Regions from separate parts of the Homo sapiens genome. Here regions 1, 2, 3, 4 and 5 are each linked to region 6. The links are contacts of gene promoters, found by promoter capture Hi-C in blood cells and fetal thymus (Javierre and others, 2016). All regions are on one chromosome and are shown on one strand. The core of a region is centred on a gene start or on the middle of the fragment in contact, and the rest is flanking DNA. Distances in the headings are between cores, read along the strand shown.

Region 1 (3,537 bases), core at 870-3,369, 150 kb before region 6:
TGTTTAAATAAAGTAGTCCAAGATCATACAACTATAGGATGTTACTCAAGGCTTGAACTGGCACGGTTTATGAGACAGCACTTGAAGTTCTGAAGAATGACAGAGGAAGAAGAACCTGAAGCCAATGACAGCTTCCGAGGGGAAATCATGTTTCAGCTTAGTCTTGAAGAATGCACAGTAAACTCTGCATCCCTGGTGGACAAGACAGTTGAGGACATTTCATGTGGAAGAAAAGGAAGGAAAGAGATTGTGAAAAAAAGAGATCATTACAGCAACTCTTGATATTTAATATGTCAAGTCCTCTTTCTTTGTTCTTAGTTCCATTGGGTAATTTTCTATATATATGTTGATATCAATTTGTTTTAATCAGATAATTGACCGAGGAAACATATATATATATATATATATTTTTTTTTTTTCGAGACAGAGTCTTACTCTGTCACCCAGGCTGGAGTGCAGTGGCGCGATCTCAGCTCACTGCAAGCTCCGCCTCCCGGGTTCACGCCATTCTCCTGCCTCAGCCTCCCGAGTAGCTGGAACTACGGGGGCCACCACAACGTCTGGCTAATTTTTTTGTATTTTTAGTAGAGACGGGGTTTCACCATGTTAGCTAGGATGGTCTCCATCTCCTGACCTCGTGATCCACCCGCCTTGGCCTCCCAAAGTAATGGGATTACAGGTGTGAGCCACCACGCCCGGCTGGAAACATAACTTTTAATAACCTCAGAAATAGACTACTGTATGAACACTTGATATGAAAGAGGTAGCATCATATAACGTGGAAAAAGGTGCTGGGACAATTGAGTACCTGTATGGGAAAAAATCAAACTGGACCCTGTATTGTATGCCGTGGTGCCCTTCCCAGTTCTCCCCTTCAGAGTGATGACACTAATTGTTCCAGCTGCAATATTGCTGGTTGACAGGTCGCAGCTGAATCACTCCTCAGGAATTGCCCTTGGCCTAAAGGAGCTGCCTTGCTGAAGGCTGTGGTCCCTCCCTGAAGGCAGCTCACATCGAGACTAGCTGATGTGGGGATACAAATTCTATCAATTTGAGACAAGCTGAAAGCTATTATGGGACCTGCCAAGGCCTCCACTGCATATGCTTCACCATTCGTTTCTCCTCTGCCCAAATCTGCCTTCCTCACCTTTTTTCAGGTACAGTTCCCATGCTCATGGTCCAATAAACCACATGTTTACAAATCACCATCTCAGAGATCTTCCCAGGGAGGTCTACCTAAGACCCCTAACTTACACCATACCCCACAATCAGCTCCAGGTAAATTAAAACTAAAGTACAGAAAGATGGAAATAATTTGCACAAGGTTATACATCTGAACGAGAAAAGAGCTGAGATTTAAACCTGAGAAGTCTGGCTCTAGAGTCTCTGCTCTTAATCCCTAATGGCAAATAAAATAAACCACTTATGGCTGCATGGAATGTCATGGATGAATTACACAAACACATTGTGGAGCAAATGAAGCAAGGCACAAAAAAATACAAAAAGTATGATTTCACTTACGTGAAGCACAAAAGCAGGCAACATAAGTTGGATTGTTTAGAAATGCATACACAGATAGTAAAGATATAAAGAAAGGCAAAGGAATGACTATGGAAAAAATCAGGAGGTGATTACTCAAAGGGAACAGGAAGAGGTGAAATAGGGGAGAGGGTTCTGAGAATGTTGGTAATGTGTTATTTCTTCATCTGAATGGTGGTTACACATATGAACATTTACCATTTATTTGTGTTTAACATTTATAATAATGGTTTTAAACTATAGGTATGTGTTCTTTTCTTTCTTTCTTTTTCTTTTTTTTTTTTTTTGAGATGGAGTCTTGCTCTTGTTGCCCAGGCTAGAGTGTAATGGAGAGGTCTCTGCTTACTGCAACCTCCACCTCCCGAGTTCAAGCGATTCTCCTGCCTCAGCCTCCCAAGTAGCTGGGATTTACAGGCATGTGCCACCATGTCCGGTTAATTTTTGTATTGTTAATAGAGATGGGGTTTCACCATGTTGGCCAGGCTGGTCTTGAACTCCTGACCTCAGATGATCCACCTGCCTCGGCCTCCCAAAGTGCTGGGATTACAGGTGTGAGCCATTGCACCCAGCCAGATATGTGTTCTTTTCACTTTTTTTTGTGAATGTGACATATCTTACAATTAAAAAATTGGAATAGAGAAATCCATGGTGAGAGGTGAGATGACTGCAGTAGAGAACCCTGTGAAAGATATGCTAAGGGTCAGGGTCACAGGGCTCTGTGTATAAGTGTTAGAGAGGGTTTTACTTCTTTTCTCTTCAGCCTTCACCATAAAATTTTGCAGAAGCCTTCACAAGTTGTCTGGTTATGAGCAAGCAACTCTGAAGTCCTGGTGATCCAGAGAGGTGTTGCTTCTGATCTCTTTTCACTATGGAGCCACAGAGAGCTGAACTTCCCATCTCCCAGGGGAGCTTTGAGGCCCATGTTTTAATTTGCCTGCCTAGCTTTCTCTCCTGCATGGCGTTAGGCATCTCGGAGGCAACATTCTAAAACAAAACTCATCAGTAGCAGGATGAGCCTTGAAAATTCTTTCTTTTTCTTCCTGAGATTGAGTTCATATAGCATGAAATCATAAGGAAAACAAACATCCTTGTAACATAATCACACATGAGATGGCCACAAGATCTGAGTAGTATGAAAGGTCTGATTACCTTGCAGGTACTACTTCCCTCCAGGACAGCTCCCTCTCATCCTTTGCTCCTATGTCATTTGGCAGGCAAAGAGTTGGGGATAAAGGGCTAATACTGAGGTTAAAAGGAGGGAACCACTGGAAGTCCTGAGCAAAGGGGGTTTGGGGTAGAAGAAAAGAGTAGGATGAGGGGTATGAGGGTCCTTAACCAACTTTAGGGAGTTGACCAACTGAGTGAACTGAAAGTCAACAACTGTGATATTGCAACAGTATGAGAAATGTGTGCCCAAGGCAGTGACTAGGGTTCAGACACCACCCTGGACTCCCAAGTCATTCCTACCTTATATTTTTGTAATTCTTTCCAGATATTTGTCAAACTAAGATTTAGGCCATGTAGGACAAGGATTGATCTGTTCCCTGTCATCCTCAATGGGAACACAGTTCTGGAGGCTCCACATACATTCAGTTTACCGACTCTACAAGCACATGTTAAGCATCAAGTATCTGAATAGGGCTCTGAAAGCCACAGATAGCACAATTCTTTCTATCAAGGAGCTCACAGTGTGGCTGAGGAGGCAACAGGCTATCTGACAAGGAGAGTGCCAAGCCCTTCTCAGGATGTGGGATAGGTCTCAGGGATAGCCCCTGTCTTAAAGAGTATACCTATGAGTTAAAATACATAATCATGAAAGAGAAAACTGAGATGAAGGAGTGTTAGACTTGAAGTAAGAGTTTTGGAAAAAAATTCTAGGAGAAATAGTTGAAGAGCTGAGTTTTGAAAACGAGTAGTTATTATTGTTACATTGAATTTAATTATCTTTCTGAAAAAAAGTTTTCTTTAAATTTATATTTTTTTCTTCTCACAGCTTTT
Region 2 (3,505 bases), core at 977-3,476, 220 kb after region 6:
AAGCAAGAAACAACACAATTCAAAATAGTGATTAATTCTTGGAAAGGGATGGGTCTATGATTTGAGAGATGTATTTGTTTGTTATGTCTGCCATAATAGTATACCACATACTGGGTGGCTTAAACAACAGAAGTATATTTTCTCACAGTTCTGAAGGCTGAACATCCAAGGTTAAGGTCCTGGAAGGTTTGGTTTCTCCTAAGACCTCCCTTCCTGGCTTGCAGATGGCTATCTTCTCACTGTCTTCACATGGTTACCCCACAGTCTGTGTGTTGTCTGTGCTCTAATTTCTTTTTAGGAAGACACCAGTCAAATTGAATTCAGGACCATGCTAATGAACTCCACTTAACCTGGTTACCTCTGTAAAGACTTCATTTCCACATACAGTCTTATTCTGAGGTACTAGGGATTAGGGATTCAACATATGAATTTAGGAAATGCACAGTTCAGCCTATAACAAGAGGTTCATACACAGAGGCTTCTGGTGTATTAGTTAGTTCTAAAATTTAGCCTGCATAACAAGAGAGTGGGTGTTTACTATATTACTGCTCTCCAAACTATATATATGTAATCGTCTTCTCTTTTGTATTTGTGGCAGGCAGAATCCTAAAACAAGCCCATCAAGCTTCCCACCCACTTCCCTAGGAGTGTGAATATGATGAGATATTACAAACATCATTACGTTATCTTACACAGCAAAAAGATTTTGCAGATGTAATTAAGGTTATTAATGAGTAGACTAAATAAATCAAGAGTGATTATTCAAGTGAGCCTAATGTAATAACTTGAACCCTAAAAGCAGAGAGTTTTCTCTGGCAGGTAGCAGAAGAGGAAGTAAGAGAGATTTGAAGGGTGAGCTCAGCTCAATGCAAGGCAGGTTGTTCATTGCTTATATGGAAGGAGCCACATGGAAGGAAGTGAGAGCAGCCTCTGGGAGTGCTGAGTGACCCCAAGCCAACAGCCAGGAAGAATATCAGGACCCCAGTCCTATGCTGTAAAGAACTGAATTCTACCAACAATCTGAATTGGGAGTGGATTCATCCCTAGAGCCTTCAAATGAGAGCTTGGCCCTACTGACACCTCGATTTTAGCTTTATGAAATGCCAAGCAGAGAACCTGGTCAAGTCACCTAGACAGCTAATCTACAAAACTGTGAAATATTACATGGGTTAATTTTAAACCACTACGTTGTGGTAATTTGTTACCTAGCAATGAACAATTGAAACAGTCTGTATTACATAGTTTACAGTAAAAATAGTTTAATGAAATGCAGAATTGTTTCCTGTAGTCTCTAAGCTCTATACTTGTAGGCTTATGCCTCAGTAAATTTGTCTCCAGGGCCATCAGGCCATATTGAATTTATTGAATTATCCATGTATTCTTACTGATGAATGTGTATCTTTTCTTATTGTACATGTTCACTTACTACAAGGTTAACTCCATTCAGAAGAATTCACCCCCTATGTTTCCATTTGAAAGCCCCCCTCCACCTTTTTTTTTTTTTTTTTTTTTTTTTTTTTTTTTTTTTGGAGAGAGTGCAGGATGTTTTCAGGAATGGAAGCAAAAATACTGGGCAATTATTTTCCCACATTGTGCAGGAATCATATCTAGAGGCTAGGTTTCCTACACTCTCAGCTTGGCATTCTTTGTAAAGAAATGCCAGCTTTGAAAATCACAGTCCTAGAGGCTTCCACACTCCCCGACATCTTCGCTACTTACAGGATTTATTTTCTGCTGTACAAAGCACCTTCAGGTATCAACTGAACATTTTTAATAAATTGGGAAGAAATAAAGTCAGAATATATCTGAATACACTCACATCACAATTCTTGACTCTCAGAGGAATCAGTTGTGTGAGAAAGGAATAGAAAAGCCCTGAGTGAGAACAAAGGTAGCCATAACACTTACTTGAAATTTGAAATCAATGTAGCAGGACACTCAACTGGATTTACAAATTCAGAAATATTGAGGGAGAAGGTTACACAAACCTAATTATATGCTATTATCCTGATCAACAAATACTTACTGAGCATCTGTTATATTTGAAAAACTGGTAGATATACTAAACCAATAATTAATTGCTTAAAAGTATTAATATGCACGGTCAATAACTTTCTTAATGGCAAAAATTAACTTGATCCTTTCTATGAAAAGTTGTAAAAATAAAGATTATATGTAAATTTTATCAATTGAATGTAGCAATTTCTATCTGCCTACCATCATTAAAGCAAACACCCTAAACCTACTTTCAGTAATCTTCCTACTATCGCCTATAACAAGAAAAGCACAACTCTTGCAGCCAGATATTTATTTTCTTTTTCTTTTATTTATTTATTTATTTTTTTTGAGACAGAGTTTCCCTCTTGTTGCCCAGTCTGGAGTGCAATGACGAGATGTAGGCTCACTGCATCCTCCGCCTCCTAGGTTCAAGCGATTCTCCTGCCTCAGCCTCCGGAGTAGCTGGGATTACAGGCATGCGCAACCATGCCTGACTAATTTTTGTATTTTTAGTAGAGATGGGGTTTCACCATGTTGGTCAGGCTGCTCTCAAACTCCTAACCTCAGGTGATCCACCCGCCTCGGCCTCCCAAATTGCTGGGATTACAAGCGTGAGCCACCGCGCCCGGCCGCGCAGCCAGATATTTCTAGGAAGGTAAACATCTTTTTTTTTTTTTTTTTAGACGGAGTTTTTCTCTTGTTGCCCAAGCTGGAGTGCAATGGCACGATCTCAGCTCACCGTAACTTGCGCCTCCCGCGTTCAAGCGATTCTCCTGCCTCAGCCACCCCAGTAGCTGGGATTACAGGCGTGCGCCACAACGCCCAACTAATTTTGTGTATTTTTAGTAGAAACGGGGTTTCACCATGTTAGCCAGGTTGGTCTCGAAATCCTGACCTCAGGTGATCCACCCACCTCGGCTTCCCAAAGTGCTGGGATTGCAGGCGTGAGCCACCGCGCCTGGCCGTAAACATGTTTTTATTTGACTCAACAATAAATTTTTGACACTCCACAATCTAAATACCATACAGATCTGCTTACCTTTTAATTTCACAGTTTCTATATTTTGCTTAATGTTAAATATAATCTCATTACATCTGGAACCCTTTCTGAGTTTTTCCAGTCCCTAGAAGGAAAAGATAAAAGCCATAGTTGGCTTACCAAACATGCAGAGGACAAGGACAGTCAGAAGGAGGAGTGCTGGTGAGTTCTGAGTACCCATGTCTGTCCTTAATCTTGATCCTGTTCTGGATGGTGGAATCAATACTGCAGCCCACTTGCATGTGCTCTCTGTAACCCAGAGAATGTTTTATTGCTCTCCTTGTATTCTCTGTCCCCTCTAAAGAATAAAAGGTGAAGTTTATCAAGTGGTATACTTTTTGCTCACAAGCCAATAAAGAAGCTGAGTTTGTTTTTCAAACTTTGTTTTAATTGGGGCTTTTGGGGCACAATGAGATGAACTTGTTAAATAGAGAAATGAATCTATTATTTCCTGCCATGAAACTGCGA
Region 3 (3,430 bases), core at 712-3,211, 160 kb after region 6:
ATCAATCTCCTTTTCTTTCAACCTTTCTGCTCCACTTCTCCAGGATGATTTATCCTCCTCCCAGAAGGGTGTAGTCCTTCAATGACAGCTTAGTTTTTGATACATCAAGGATTTTATCATGAACATTGAGACCTATCCAATCACCAGTTCCACAGCTACAGGCCAACCTTCAGAGAAGTCTTCCTGGAATGCTAAGAAAAGGCTAGAGTTTTTTAGATAAAAGTTCCTCTTTTTGGTTTGTTTTTAAAATTGGTGACAATAGGTGCTGTCTTACAGATTAATTCCAAGGTATTGTCCTCCTTTGCCACCTTGGACAGTTCCCACAAAACGTTCTAGGCCTTACTCTCTTTCAAAAATTATGCATTCATCTGAGTGCTCTGTGCAGGAAGAAAGGTGATGTAACAGTTGTCCCATATCTGTAAGAGGTATTGTCAAGGCCAGCTGATACAGGAGGGACCAATATGGACCCTTTAGTCTTCTTAGTTTGTAAAACACCTTAGTTCACATTTGACAGTCATGGGAAGGATTGCCACCACTGATTCTATCTGGGAATAGTGATGTCTGAGATGGAGATATGTTTGGCTCTTCTCTCCTCCTCTGTGCCTAAAATATCATTATGAGCCCAAAATACACAAAATCTTAAACCTAGCACATTTTAGAGACTGTAAGAAGCTAGGTGGACATTTGGTATGTGACATGTTATTAAGTTAAAAAGTCAGTTATTTCCTAGAAATGACACATGAATTTATATTCTCATTGTTTTCTAATGCCTTAGTTTCCAGGTGGTTGAAACCAAGTTCCCCCAGTTATGTCTGATTCATCGGAACCCAGGAATGCACCACCTGGAGATCACCTGCTGCGGTAGTGTGTTTCGTCCTTGCCTCCATCCTGCCCTTTCATCACCATTCCTTGCCTCAGTGTCTAGGTCAACACTCCCTTGTGTTTAGGATTGAACAGCCCCAGAGGCTTGTCCTCCTCATTTATTCTCAAAGAAACCTCATTCATTTCATTCTTTCTCCTCTTTTTATCACCAAAAGGCCTATCCGGGGAGTGAATCCTCTCAGCTGCAAGTCTGGGACGGGACTTCATCCTACTAGAGCCCTAGCTGATTGCTTGATAGTTCTTTGGTTTACACCACAGTTGACATCCATAACAGGAAGTGAGGTTAGGCCTTTTTCTCTGTGGATGTACATACTTAGAGGGAGCCTTTCCAAGGTGTTCACTCCACCCTTCTTTTCTCTTTCTGAGCAAAATCTTTCCCTAGAGTCCCATATCAGATATGATGTAAACCTTGAATTTTACAGTGAAATGTTTGCTTCAAATTTAACCATGATACTGATCTGCTTCAGTGTCTGACTTAAAGATTCATTTGTTACTGGTCAATGCATCTAACATTGAGTTTTACGGAAAACCCCTGATACTTAATGACAGAGGTAAGAATGAGCTGCCTGTTGATTTGCAGTATGAGGTGTTAGAGTGCCAAATATGAGATCTCCAGTAAAAACAATATTAATGCCCAATTATGCATTTCCATGACTGAGATCAGCCATTTCTCAGAGAAGTTTTACTAATCTGGCTACTTTAGCTCTGTTGATACCTGTGATACAAATCATAGTATTTAACATTTTGGTAAATACTGAAATTGTGAATTCGCTCCAAATCCATTCAGGCATGTTTATGAATCATAGAAGCTCTCTAAACAGTATGATTGGATGTGAGCTAATATTTAGGAGATTTACCGACCTATTAAAAGTATGTAAGTATATTGGAGAAGTGGGGAAAAATAGAAACAAGAGAGAAAATGCATTACAATTTGTTCTAACAGAATTTTTGATCTCTTCACTCCAAGTATTGTGAGTGAATGTAAAAATATAATTCAATATCTACAAAATGCTATAATTCATCTGTTGTGTCTCCAAATGCCAGGGTTGTAAACAGATTTCTCACTTGTGCCTTTCTTTGTCATTTGATAGCCATGTTGACTAAAGTGAGTTGCTTCCCTCTGGCAATCATTGCTGATGTTGAATAAACTTGTTCTTAACCTTTGTTATGCTGCTGGGACACACAACACTGGATAATGGCATAAAAGACTAACAGGATGTGGTATAACTTGACGCACTAAATCCTCTGCTAAATCACACTTTTTGTTTTACTCAACTGTCTTCCTCTTTTCATTTGGCATTTCATCTGATTAATCTTACCTCTGTTCATGAAATATAAAGGTCTAGCTAGGTCAACACTAGAAAGATTATAGTTGTTGGTATTGTACTTGCCCTTTACTCTAAATAAGTATTTTAACAGACAAGAAAGCTCTTCCTTATCTAAACATTTGTGGCAGAATAAGCTCAATGTCTTGAGTTTTCTAAATCTCTTTTTTTCTTTTTCTCTCATAATTCCACACTAGCCCACTGCACCTTATCATATATAATAACAACTAATATTTCATGACAACTACTTTGTTCCAAGTGTGTTTTATGAATTATATTTACCTAATCCTCCCAACAGCTATTTTTGCCCATTTTTCTGGATAAGATTATAGAGTTTAAGAGAGGTTGAGTGACTTGGCTGAAGTCACGCAGGAAATTGATGGAGCTGGAATTCAAAACCAGGCCATCTGACAGCAGAGCCCATACAGGTAACCACTGCCTGCTATTCTTCATTGCTTCTCCTAAGGTTGGCTTTGCATGTCCACAGCTTCACCTACCAAGAAGAGGGATGGGAATTTGATCTTTTTCCAATGACAAGCAGACATGTCAGAGAAGCCACTGTGCACTTTCCAGCATCCTGCCACCCATCTGGTTCTCTGTGCCAAGCTCGTCCACCATCTCCTTTCTCTGTATACCATTCAATCATTCCTCAAAACTTTTTTTGAGTTTCTACTAATACCCAGCAATGCTAAAGACACTGAAGATATAGCTATAAGCCAAAGATTTTCTCTTGATGAGTAATTATTTTATTAGAGCTGACAATTGACAAATAAGAAAAAAAAGATTGTGTGTGTGGATGTATATAGGTTTACATATGTATTTTATATAGAGTGATCTGAGAAAGACTCTAACACAATGATATTTGAGCAAAACCCTTAAAGAAGTAAAGGAAAAATTATGCAGCTCTGGAAAAAAAATATTCCAGGCATAGAGAAAAACAGGTTCAAATATTCCAAGGCAGGAGTTTGCTTGGTATATTTAAGTAGCAATGTGGCTGAGCGGTATTAACAAGTAGTCAGGGACTGTAATATTGGAGGGTTGTGCCTTACAGGGTGTGATGAGAACTTTCGGTTTTCTTTAAGTGACATAAAATGCCATTTGGGGGATTTTTAACAAAAGAGTAAAATGATTTTTCTTTCTCTTTGAAAGTTTTTCATATGCTGTGTGAAAAAATAGAAAAAAGGAAAGCAGAGAAAGATAAAGAGAGGACAGAGTAGCCCGAG
Region 4 (3,121 bases), core at 382-2,881, 180 kb after region 6:
ATTCTGCAGTAAAGACATACTGATGATTTCAACAAACTATAATTATTTAACTTTATTGGAAATAACACCAAACACCATCTAATATATAGATGTGAACATCATTCCAAAACTTTTAAAAATTAGCTTTTAGTATAAGCTTTATATTTGCCTTTTCTTGAGATTGTTGTTTAAACTTTTGTGGAAGGTATTGAGTAATTAAATTACATTATGCTCATATCATGTAATCCAAGAAATATAGGAATGCCAAAATTACAAAAGAATATGTCAGAAAAAATACAGGAAATAAGCAAACATCTCTATGGAAACATTTTTATCATACTAGATGATTATATTGGTCATCATGATGACTCTGGTATTATGGAAGCACAATGTAGGAAGTTGAGATGAGTTATAAACCACAGCAAACATATCACACACAGTGTATGAATACATAGTTCAACTAAGACAGTTACAAATCATCCTAAAAAACTTTGATGATCAGAAAAGGTCTTCTGTAATGTTTTAACATTTTGAAATGTATTGATACATTTTTTATGACTCATCTATGTTCTCTTTGGAAAGACAAATGTGATTTATGCAATTGCTGGGTAAATTGCCAATATATGTCAGTCAAACCAAGTTGGTTGCTTATGTTGCTTAACACTTCTATACTGCTACTAAATTTGTGCTGCTTTACATATTAAGTGTTGAAAGAGTTTGTTAGAATCTGTAACTATGATTATATATCTGTCTATTGCTCTTTTTTGATCTCTTCATTTTGCTTTATGTGTGTGTGTGAATTTTTTTTTTCTTTAGAGACAAGGCCTTGCTCTGTCACCCAGGCTGCAGTGCGGTGGCATGATCATAGCTCACTGCAGCTTCAGACTCATGGGCTCAGTTGATTCTCCCACCTCAGCCTCACAAATAGTTTATATAATTTGATAATGTGTTTCTAAGTTCATAAAAGCTTAGGAATGTTTTGTCTCTTGTTTAGTTAACCCCTTTTTATTTTTAACAGTCTTTTTTATCTCCAAGACTATTTCTTTCCTTAAGGCATAATATATTAATTAGGCCTTCATTAGTATATCAATTTTTAATAAATATAATTTATATGAATAGCATATTAATAGTTAAGTAATAAATATATTAATATATCCAGGTCAGGTTTCAATATAGTAATATATCCATGTCAGCCCATTTGTATGTGATATAACACTATTAATTCTTTTAATTTCAAGCAACCTGGTGCCCAATTTGTTTTTACTTTTATTGTATTTTTATAATTGACACATAATTACTGTGCATATTGATGGGGTACATAGTAATGTTTCTATATATAATGTATAGTGAAGAGATCAGGGTAATTAGCATATCCGTCATTTCAAATATTTATCATTTATTTGTGTGGGAACATTTGATATCCTTCTAGCTGTTTGAAACTATTACTTTTAACTATAGGCATCCTACAGTGGTATAAAACACTAGAATTTGTTCCTCCTATCTAGATATAATTTAAAGTGTGTCTCTTTTAAGAAGCATAAACATGTCATATTTATGTAGTCTGATAATCTTTGACTTTTAATTGGAGTGTTTATTCTGCTTAAATTTACTATAATTCTTAATATAGTTGTATCTAAGTCTACTATCTGCTATTATATTTGTCCTATCTTTTGAAAAATAAACTTTTAAATTTGGAATAATTTTAGACTCACAAAAAATTTGTGTGGGCACAGAGAGTTTCTATATCTGACCTTTAGCTCAGTGTCCCGTAATGTTGACATCTTACATACTTGTAGTATATTTGACAAAACTAAGAAATTAACATTGGTACATTGCTGTTAACTAAACTCTTGTCTTTATTCAGATTTCATCAATTTTCCAATAATGTCCTTTTTTCTATTCCAGGATCCAATTCAACATACCACATTGTATTTAGTCCCCATATCACTTTTGTCTCCTTTAATCTGTGACAATTTATTGATTTTGTCTTGTTTTTCATGACCTTGACAGGTTGAAGAGTACTTATGAGGAGTTTTGTAAAACGTCCATCAGTTTTACCACCATAAAAATCAGTTCAGATTTTTATGATGTCCTTGTTGTGATTATACAAAGGTTATGCATTTTCTGGAAGAATATAAATGGAGTGGAAGTGTCCTTCCATCACATTATATGAGGGGGTGCGTAATATTCACATGCCATAATTGGTGACAGTAACCTTGATCACTTGGTTAAGATTGTCTGCCAAATTTCTCCACTGTAATTTTTTTTTCCTTTTTCTTAGTCTTTTCTTTGGAAGCCAGTCACTAAGTCTAGCTACACGCACCTGGAGAGGGGAATTAAGCTTCACCTTCGGGAAGGAGGAGACTATACTCATATTATCAGCAATTCTTCTGTAAAGATGTGTCTCTTCTGCCTTTGATCCATGTGTTGGTTTATTCCTCCATTTCTGTCTTCTTTTGTATTAGTCGGGTATTTTCTATTACACTATTTTATGTCCTTTTTAGATTAAGTCCAAAATTTTGCATTTTCCTTTTAGTTGTTGCCCTACAAATTACAACATTTGTTCTTGCTACAATTTTTTTCTTAATACTTTCTCTAACAATTGAAGAGATATGTTATAGTCTAAACCCACTTATCTCCCAACCTGTCTTTTGTGCTATTTTTGTCATATATTTTACATTACAGTATCTCAATAGGTCATTTTTTTTAATATCACAATTCTTTTTAGTTCTAAGGCAGAATCAACTTTTCTACCTTTTGCTCCCAACCTTGTTAAACGGGAAAGAATTGCATAAGTATTTGAGAAACCGTTTACCAAAAGCATCTAGCAGATCTAGCAGACGCCCATGTTAAAATATCAATAACATTCAAAAATTTGTAAAGAACTAGTTTTGAATAACAAATTGGTCAATGTGAAAAACAGCTAAATGTTATACAAAATTAGAATTATCAAAGTGGTTGGGGGGTAGTATGTACTTTCTAAAAGCATCGGATAGTCCGTTTTGAATAAGAGAAATATAAGGGAAGTGACAGCTAGAAGCAGGCACAGATTTAGATAGAACCTGCAGCCTAACTGTATAACACCTTGGGTGCCTGGGAAGAACTAAAAGTCAAGAAGAATTTTTTGAAAAACCACATAAGC
Region 5 (3,347 bases), core at 60-2,559, 200 kb after region 6:
TTCTACAACTTTATTATTTTTAGGGTTTGAAGGCTAAAACAAACATCAGAAGAAACTTTCAGAAGATGTTTTAAGCAAGACATAATAGCACTAAGACACTAAAAGACCCTATTAAGTTCCTGAACATACTAACAAAAATTTATTGAGCAAGTATTTTGCGCTGGGCTCTGTGTGATTCCTAATATCATTAACCATTATTAAATCTGTTTATTATCATCAGCATGTCTAGTCTTACAGTAGAGTGGGGTTGGAAAAATCAACAAAGATGTGTTTCAATAGAAATTTTCAAATAAATAAAGGGAAAGTGCACTACAATGTTTAGCCAAGGATTGGGGGTAAAACATATATTATATATTGAAGCATGGCTTGCTTATTTTCACCTTCTTTCTGTTATCTTTTATCCAGCATTCTCAGAATAAAATGAGATTTTTGAAACAGAATAGAACTTAGATCAAAATTTTAATACAGTAAGAATAAGTATCCTGGATAAATAAGAATCTGAGAAAGTCAAGACTTCAAAATCCTCCCCTTCCAGTGAAAAGCGTTAGCAGAAAGTTAACAAATTAACCAGATGAATTCATCAACTTTCAACATTTTCTGTACAATTTTATTGATTCTGGGAGCATCTGGGTCCAGGCAGATTTTTTCTCCCATCTTACAGAGTGGCTCTGCAAGAGAGAATAGAATTATCTGTGGGTGTCCTGGCCTGAATATCAGAAAGGATCTGTGAGACTGGAGGAAATGAATGCAGATGGGGATGGAGGTAGAGGGCTTCCCTGATGAGGCGATAGCACAGAAGCAGTGGCTTACATTACTTCGTCTTTGCTGCAATGGGGTCCTGCTGAGACCAACTCCAAATTGTGGATGTTTCTGGGATGAAGTACAAAGGTTGACTTCACATACACGCAGCGCAGTTCAGTGTACAAGTCACTGTCTACACTTACAGCTGGGGTAAAAAGTGATCTATTAGTGGTCGTGAATATTTTTCTCAGTTCTCTCAATTGTAAATTGAAGGTAATTGTACCTCTCTCATAAAGCCATTGTGAATATGATCTGTAAAGCTTTAGTAAAGTGCCCAGCAGAATGCCCAGCAAATGTGAAGTGCCCCCTCTCTGTGACCCCTCCACTTGGATTTGTTGTTATAATGGCACTCTCCAGCCCCAGGAGCACCAAGCCAGTCTTTCTCCCAGATACAGGTATAGCAGAAGCAGCAACAGGTGCAAGGAACAGATCTCTACATTTCCTTTTCCCTATGTTTCTCTTAGTTTGTCCATTGGTGGAGGAACCCAGAACAGTCAACAGCAGCACCTGCAGGGCACAAAGTGATCTGGCACAGCTGCAGGGTGGCATTGAGTCTGAGGCTTATGGTGCAGAAGCCGAAGTTAAAGATGTTTCTAGAGCCTGAAGACTTCCTCTTGAGGGTGAGTTGCTGCCTACAAGTCTGCAGTTAAGTGGCTTTTCATACCCCTTGATGTCATTTATATGCTCTCCCTTGAAGTCAGTAAGGAGAAAGAGGTAGGGAAGGGGGAAGTGAGGGTATGTGGTGATACACACACACAAGCTTGTCAAGCTGTGCCCAACACAGGTCAAAATTCCTACTAAGTTGCATGTTATGCATCACTTCACATTCCCACTCTCCCTTTCTCAATACCTATCTCCCTTACACATGTGTAAGGACTCTACTTAGGAAGGTAAGAACTAGACTGAAACACTACATATATTTTCTTTGTATGAGCCTGTAACAATATGTGCTGTCTTTCCTACAACACAGTTTATAGGCTTTGTTTATAGGCTCCTATAGACACTTTAGGGGCACCTGAAACCACAAATATATGGCCCTGCGCCAAAGACAGCAGATGTTCTTTGGGACCGTATGGATAAAATAAGAGCCAATTATCATCAGAGGCTTACTTTGGATTTTAGCTTACTGAATTCTTTCTGCCTTAGAAATAAATTTTATAATTTTATCAAGAAACTACAAACAAAACTCATTCTCTCTTTTGTTTTTTTTTTTTTTTTTAGTTTTCAAGCCAATTTTTCTTATTGTTGAACAATTATTCACTATGCCTACTGAAGTTATTTGGAACTGTTTTTAAGTGTGATAACCTACAGGTCACATTTTACAGTTTACATTATAAGTAAGCAGACTTCCAAATTAACCCACCTTGGAAAGGTTTGGTGACTTGATGTTGACATTCTATCTCTGAGTAAAGCATTTTATTATGAGTTCCTCAGATTGTTGACGTACTGATTAATGTAGAACCTGATGACACTGAATAGGACCATGATTTATTTCTAAGTTACACTGAAACAAGAAGTTTTCTGATTGTTTTGCACGTAGACATTTAGCCTGTATGTAGTAATCTAATGATTGTAACTCCTTTATTTTATCCTCCGATGAAAAAGAGGACAACTCTGGTATGAGGAGCCTTCCTCTCTTCTTCTAAACTTTCCCATAAAGCCCTTTTAGCTTATGAAAGACTCTAGAACACCCCCAACTTTGTTGATGTGTCTTTCCAGGTCTGTCTTCCCATTTGGCTTTCAATAAACTTTTCTAAAATTATTTATGCCTCCACAGAAATAATTTCAGTAGATAAATGTATTTCTTATTTTTTCCACCCTACTTAATTTTTTCTTATAAATTAGAGTTTAGCAGTAGAAAATATTGAACTAAAATAATTTTTCTTCCCATCTCAACACAGAACTGTCTAGTCTTAAGCAAGCTTAAAAGAAGGGCACAAGCTGAGAGTTTGGCTTCTTCTGAGAGCTGAGATATGGAGTCAATAGCAAAGAGAAGCTCAGCAGGACACAGAATGAGGAGAACAGGCTTCTTTCTAGCTCCTCCTGCAGGATGACTTTACAACCTTTTCTTGTTATTGAGATTGAGATATTGTGAATTCTCAAGTCAGATACATTTTCATTCAATCATAAAATCAAAGCTATCTCCAGAGCAAGATATAAAGGTCTTTAGCACTATTCATAGTATCTTTCATTTTCTGTTCAACCCCTTAAACACATTGTTGAGAATATTTATTAGCTTCACTGGACACTTTTTTTCTTTCCATACTAACCCTATGCAGATTTCTTTCCTCGTTCATTAGTAAGATTTCCAAAAAGTTCCTAATCCTTTTGAGGAAACTACAGGAAAAGTCTCCTGAAGTAATGATGTTTTTGAGTGAGTTGACAGTAGGAAAGAGGTAGGCATGGATCACAGTATCTTTGAGTAATTGCCTTAATCAGCAAATGTGGCTTGTCACAAAAGACACATCATCAGCAAGGGTCATGAGGAAGTAGTAACAAATTTCATGAGTCATCAAAATTGTATAAGCCTATTAGTCAGCTTTTAA
Region 6 (3,208 bases), core at 502-3,001:
GATCATCATCACTTATACAGTCTATTACTGCCCAAAACGTTGTTATGTGGTGGGTGACTGCACATAAGTCACAGAGAATTGCTATTGAAGAGATCACTATCTTGTGGGAGAGGCAGACAAGTGGACAAATAATTTTGACCATATGTGACACGTGTCAATATAGATGTATGTTCCAATTATATGCTCTAATTGCTCCAATTGAATAGACATAGGAACACGTCAAAGCCTCATCATCATCATTTTCAACACATTATCTTCACTACTGTAGCTACTTTGCACTGAGTCCCTACCAGTACATTGAAATAGTGATAAACGTTATGATATCTAATGTCACAGTGTTTTCCATTTAAGAAACAAAACAATTTTAAACACTTTTAAATACACAGATACACATACACACACATATATATATATATATCTACAATATATGTGTGTGTATGTTTGTGTATTCTGTGAGAAATACGAAGAACAGAGTTCTGCAAGATAGAACAACAAGGGAACACAATTATATATAGCTGTCAGGGAAGGCACACCTGAGGAAGTGATATTTAAGCTGACACCAGAAATATGAATAGGTCTTAGCCAGCTGAATAGGCAGGTGTAGGGAGAGTAGGAGAAAGAATTGCATATTCCTACAAAAATGCAGGTTTGCTGAGCATTAGAATATCAGCTAGTTCCATCCAGTGGGTCCCTGACACCCTTCACCACTGTTAGTCAGAGTGACAGGGAACCTTGGGCTTTGGGTTGAGGGTGTACCTTGCCCTGATCAAGAGCCAAAGTCATTCTTTTTTAGAGAAGAGAAAACGGTCGATATGGATCTCTTCCCCTTTCCCGTGTGGGATTCTGTTGCATCCCCTTCACTGTCACCTCCCATCATTCTCACACCCAACTCCCAGATGCCCTGAATCCTCCCACAGAGAGCATCACTGCTCCCTGCCAACAGTGCAGCCCATCTCACCCTGTCACTGGCAGTGACTGAGGACACAGCAGGCTCTGGAAGACATGGCCTGGCAAACTCTCCTTGTCCTCTCTTCTGGACTATTATTCAGGATTGAAACAATGAAGAAACATCCAGGAGCTAAGTTTTTATAAAAATAATGCATTCAAATATTACTTCTGCAATTTTTCTAAGAGTAACGGGAAATAGATCTTGCATCCTACAGTATACTGGGTGATTGTTGGTGGAGCCTGGTAAATCTCATCCAGAGACTAGGGAAGTTTTCCACATTCAGGTGAAATTCAGAAGAGTCATCACCTAGAGACCAAATTAAACTTATTAGTATTAGAAAACAATTGCAAATAGCACACTCTTCAAACACACAGCCATCAAACTCAATGGTAATCAAGACTGAAGTTAGGAGCATATGGGCAGTTCTTGAGTTGAGAAGGAAACAAGAACTGTCTGGGTCCTGAAGCCACCTGCTGTGTAAGTTGCTTGGTGACTACAGAGAACTCTACTATGATACAACACAGAAAATATTTCTCTTCTAAGATGCAAGTAGTGTTTCTAACTCCACAAATGTAAGTGTATATAAACTGAGGTTGGAGGTATGCATCTTTGTACCACCTCCTAGCCAAGGCAGCTGCCCCCAGCCTTTTGTTTTGTAATCTTGGCTGGCCAGAGTCTGAGTCTTCATAGCAGTGTCTTAGCTCCTGCACCACAGTTCCTCGCTGTCCACCCCAGGCTTCCGGACTGGAAGGACAGTGGGACAGTGACGGGGGATAAAAGAAGCCTGGTGAGGCCAGGAGTCACTGCCTGCAGAACCCCAGCCCGACTTTCCCTGCGCACTGGGATCCTGCTGGAACCTCAGCTGCAACATGAGCTCCGCAGCCAGGTCCCGCCTCACCCGCGCCACCCGCCAGGAGATGCTGTTCTTGGCGTTGCTGCTCCTGCCAGTTGTGGTCGCCTTCGCCAGAGGTGAGAGCAGAAACCAGGCTGGGAGGGCCAGCAGCGGCGAGGGGGAGTCCGGGAAGCCCTGGGGCTGGGGAGGAATCCTCTAGGATCATGATCGCAGCTGCTCTTATTGCGCGCGTGCTGAGTCTGCGGGTACAGTGCCAGGCACTGCACGTGCACCTCGCCACCTGATCAGCACAACCTCTGTCTGAGAGAGGTCTGATTTACGGCTAAGGAAAAGAAAGCTGAAGGTAGTGGAAAAGGTCCCTAAAGTATCTCTGGCTACTCAGGGAGTCACAACTCCCACCCCTCCTCCTCTCTTACTCCCTCCCTTTCCCCCTCAGCTGAAGCTGAAGAAGATGGGGACCTGCAGTGCCTGTGTGTGAAGACCACCTCCCAGGTCCGTCCCAGGCACATCACCAGCCTGGAGGTGATCAAGGCCGGACCCCACTGCCCCACTGCCCAACTCATGTGAGTCCTCGCACTGCATCAGTTAGTGCTCCCGCTCCGTGCCTCCTCTGCCCATCCCTCCCCCTTCTAATGCCATTTGCAAACCCAAGGACTGAAAGTCACGTCTCTTCTCTTTTCCCTGCCAGAGCCACGCTGAAGAATGGGAGGAAAATTTGCTTGGATCTGCAAGCCCTGCTGTACAAGAAAATCATTAAGGAACATTTGGAGAGTTAGCTACTAGCTGCCTAAGTGTGCACTTTCAATCTAACTGTGAAAGAATCTTCTGATGTTTGTATTATCCTTCTTATATTATATTAACGAAATAAATCAAGTTGTGGTATAGTCAATCTATTTCTTAATAATACTGCAAAAATAATGCTGACACATCACAATTTCATATTTTAAAATTTCCAGAATTTTAAGCAAAAAGCATTATGAAGGAAGGCTTGGTTTAATAAAGACTGATTTTGTTCAGTGTTATATGTTAGCTGATACATATTTGTTCATTTATGTGATTGCAGTACTTTATAGCTACATATTTACCTTGAATGTTACAATTAGCTTGCCAATAAATATTAGTAGCTCTTAAGCATTACTCGACAGCTTTTTTTTTTTTCAATGAAGTAAATAAGCAACACTCTGCTTTTATCCCCACAAATTCCTTAACATTGGTGATATTAAGATTCTGGGAACTAAGAGAAGTGTGAGGTAATATTTTCATTCATCCTTTAGGAAGACATTGCTCTACACTGGGGAGAAATGAAGGTGTTATAATGTGGGCATATTAGTTTCCTGTTGCTTCTGTAAGAAATTACCACAAACTCAGTGGCTTAACCAACACAAATTTATCGTCTTGTAATTCTA

Evidence for each region. Contacts are between HindIII fragments. The CHiCAGO score rates a contact against its expected background, and 5 or more counts as called.
Region 1: a fragment that was not itself captured here is called in contact with the fragment with the promoter of PF4V1 in region 6 in 2 of 17 cell types (neutrophils and monocytes); the score reaches 17.7 in neutrophils.
Region 2: a fragment that was not itself captured here is called in contact with the fragment with the promoter of PF4V1 in region 6 in 4 of 17 cell types (neutrophils, M1 macrophages, monocytes and 1 more); the score reaches 14.0 in neutrophils.
Region 3: a contact is called between a fragment that was not itself captured here and the fragment with the promoter of PF4V1 in region 6, in 4 of 17 cell types (neutrophils, M1 macrophages, M0 macrophages and 1 more). The highest score is 12.6, in neutrophils.
Region 4: a fragment that was not itself captured here is called in contact with the fragment with the promoter of PF4V1 in region 6 in 3 of 17 cell types (neutrophils, megakaryocytes and M1 macrophages); the score reaches 12.1 in neutrophils.
Region 5: a contact is called between a fragment that was not itself captured here and the fragment with the promoter of PF4V1 in region 6, in 3 of 17 cell types (neutrophils, megakaryocytes and monocytes). The highest score is 7.9, in neutrophils.

Annotation. Positions count from the first base shown.
Region 1 is chr4:73,700,364-73,703,900 of GRCh38, forward strand. INKILN (inflammatory MKL1 (MRTFA) interacting lncRNA) reads right to left here. Exons shown (of 3, transcript NR_185098.1): 3 at 1-192. Among named protein-coding and RNA genes, the nearest start is that of UMLILO, 8.2 kb to the right of the region's middle. The HindIII fragment of the contact is 8,798 bases long and covers 1-3,537 here.
Region 2 is chr4:74,073,338-74,076,842 of GRCh38, forward strand. No RefSeq gene overlaps it. Among named protein-coding and RNA genes, the nearest start is that of CXCL2, 24 kb to the right of the region's middle. The HindIII fragment of the contact is 3,206 bases long and covers 624-3,505 here.
Region 3 is chr4:74,014,173-74,017,602 of GRCh38, forward strand. No RefSeq gene overlaps it. Among named protein-coding and RNA genes, the nearest start is that of CXCL5, 17 kb to the left of the region's middle. The HindIII fragment of the contact is 4,022 bases long and covers 1-3,430 here.
Region 4 is chr4:74,033,467-74,036,587 of GRCh38, forward strand. No RefSeq gene overlaps it. Among named protein-coding and RNA genes, the nearest start is that of CXCL3, 3.7 kb to the right of the region's middle. The HindIII fragment of the contact is 1,374 bases long and covers 945-2,318 here.
Region 5 is chr4:74,053,465-74,056,811 of GRCh38, forward strand. It overlaps the pseudogene PPBPP2. Among named protein-coding and RNA genes, the nearest start is that of CXCL3, 16 kb to the left of the region's middle. RefSeq lists a cis regulatory region at 3,089-3,347. The HindIII fragment of the contact is 500 bases long and covers 1,060-1,559 here.
Region 6 is chr4:73,851,545-73,854,752 of GRCh38, forward strand. It overlaps PF4V1 (platelet factor 4 variant 1), which reads left to right and starts at 1,752. Exons shown (of 3, transcript NM_002620.4): 1 at 1,752-1,918; 2 at 2,239-2,365; 3 at 2,491-2,939. The coding sequence starts at 1,819. The coding sequence ends at 2,578. The HindIII fragment of the contact is 5,836 bases long and covers 1-3,208 here.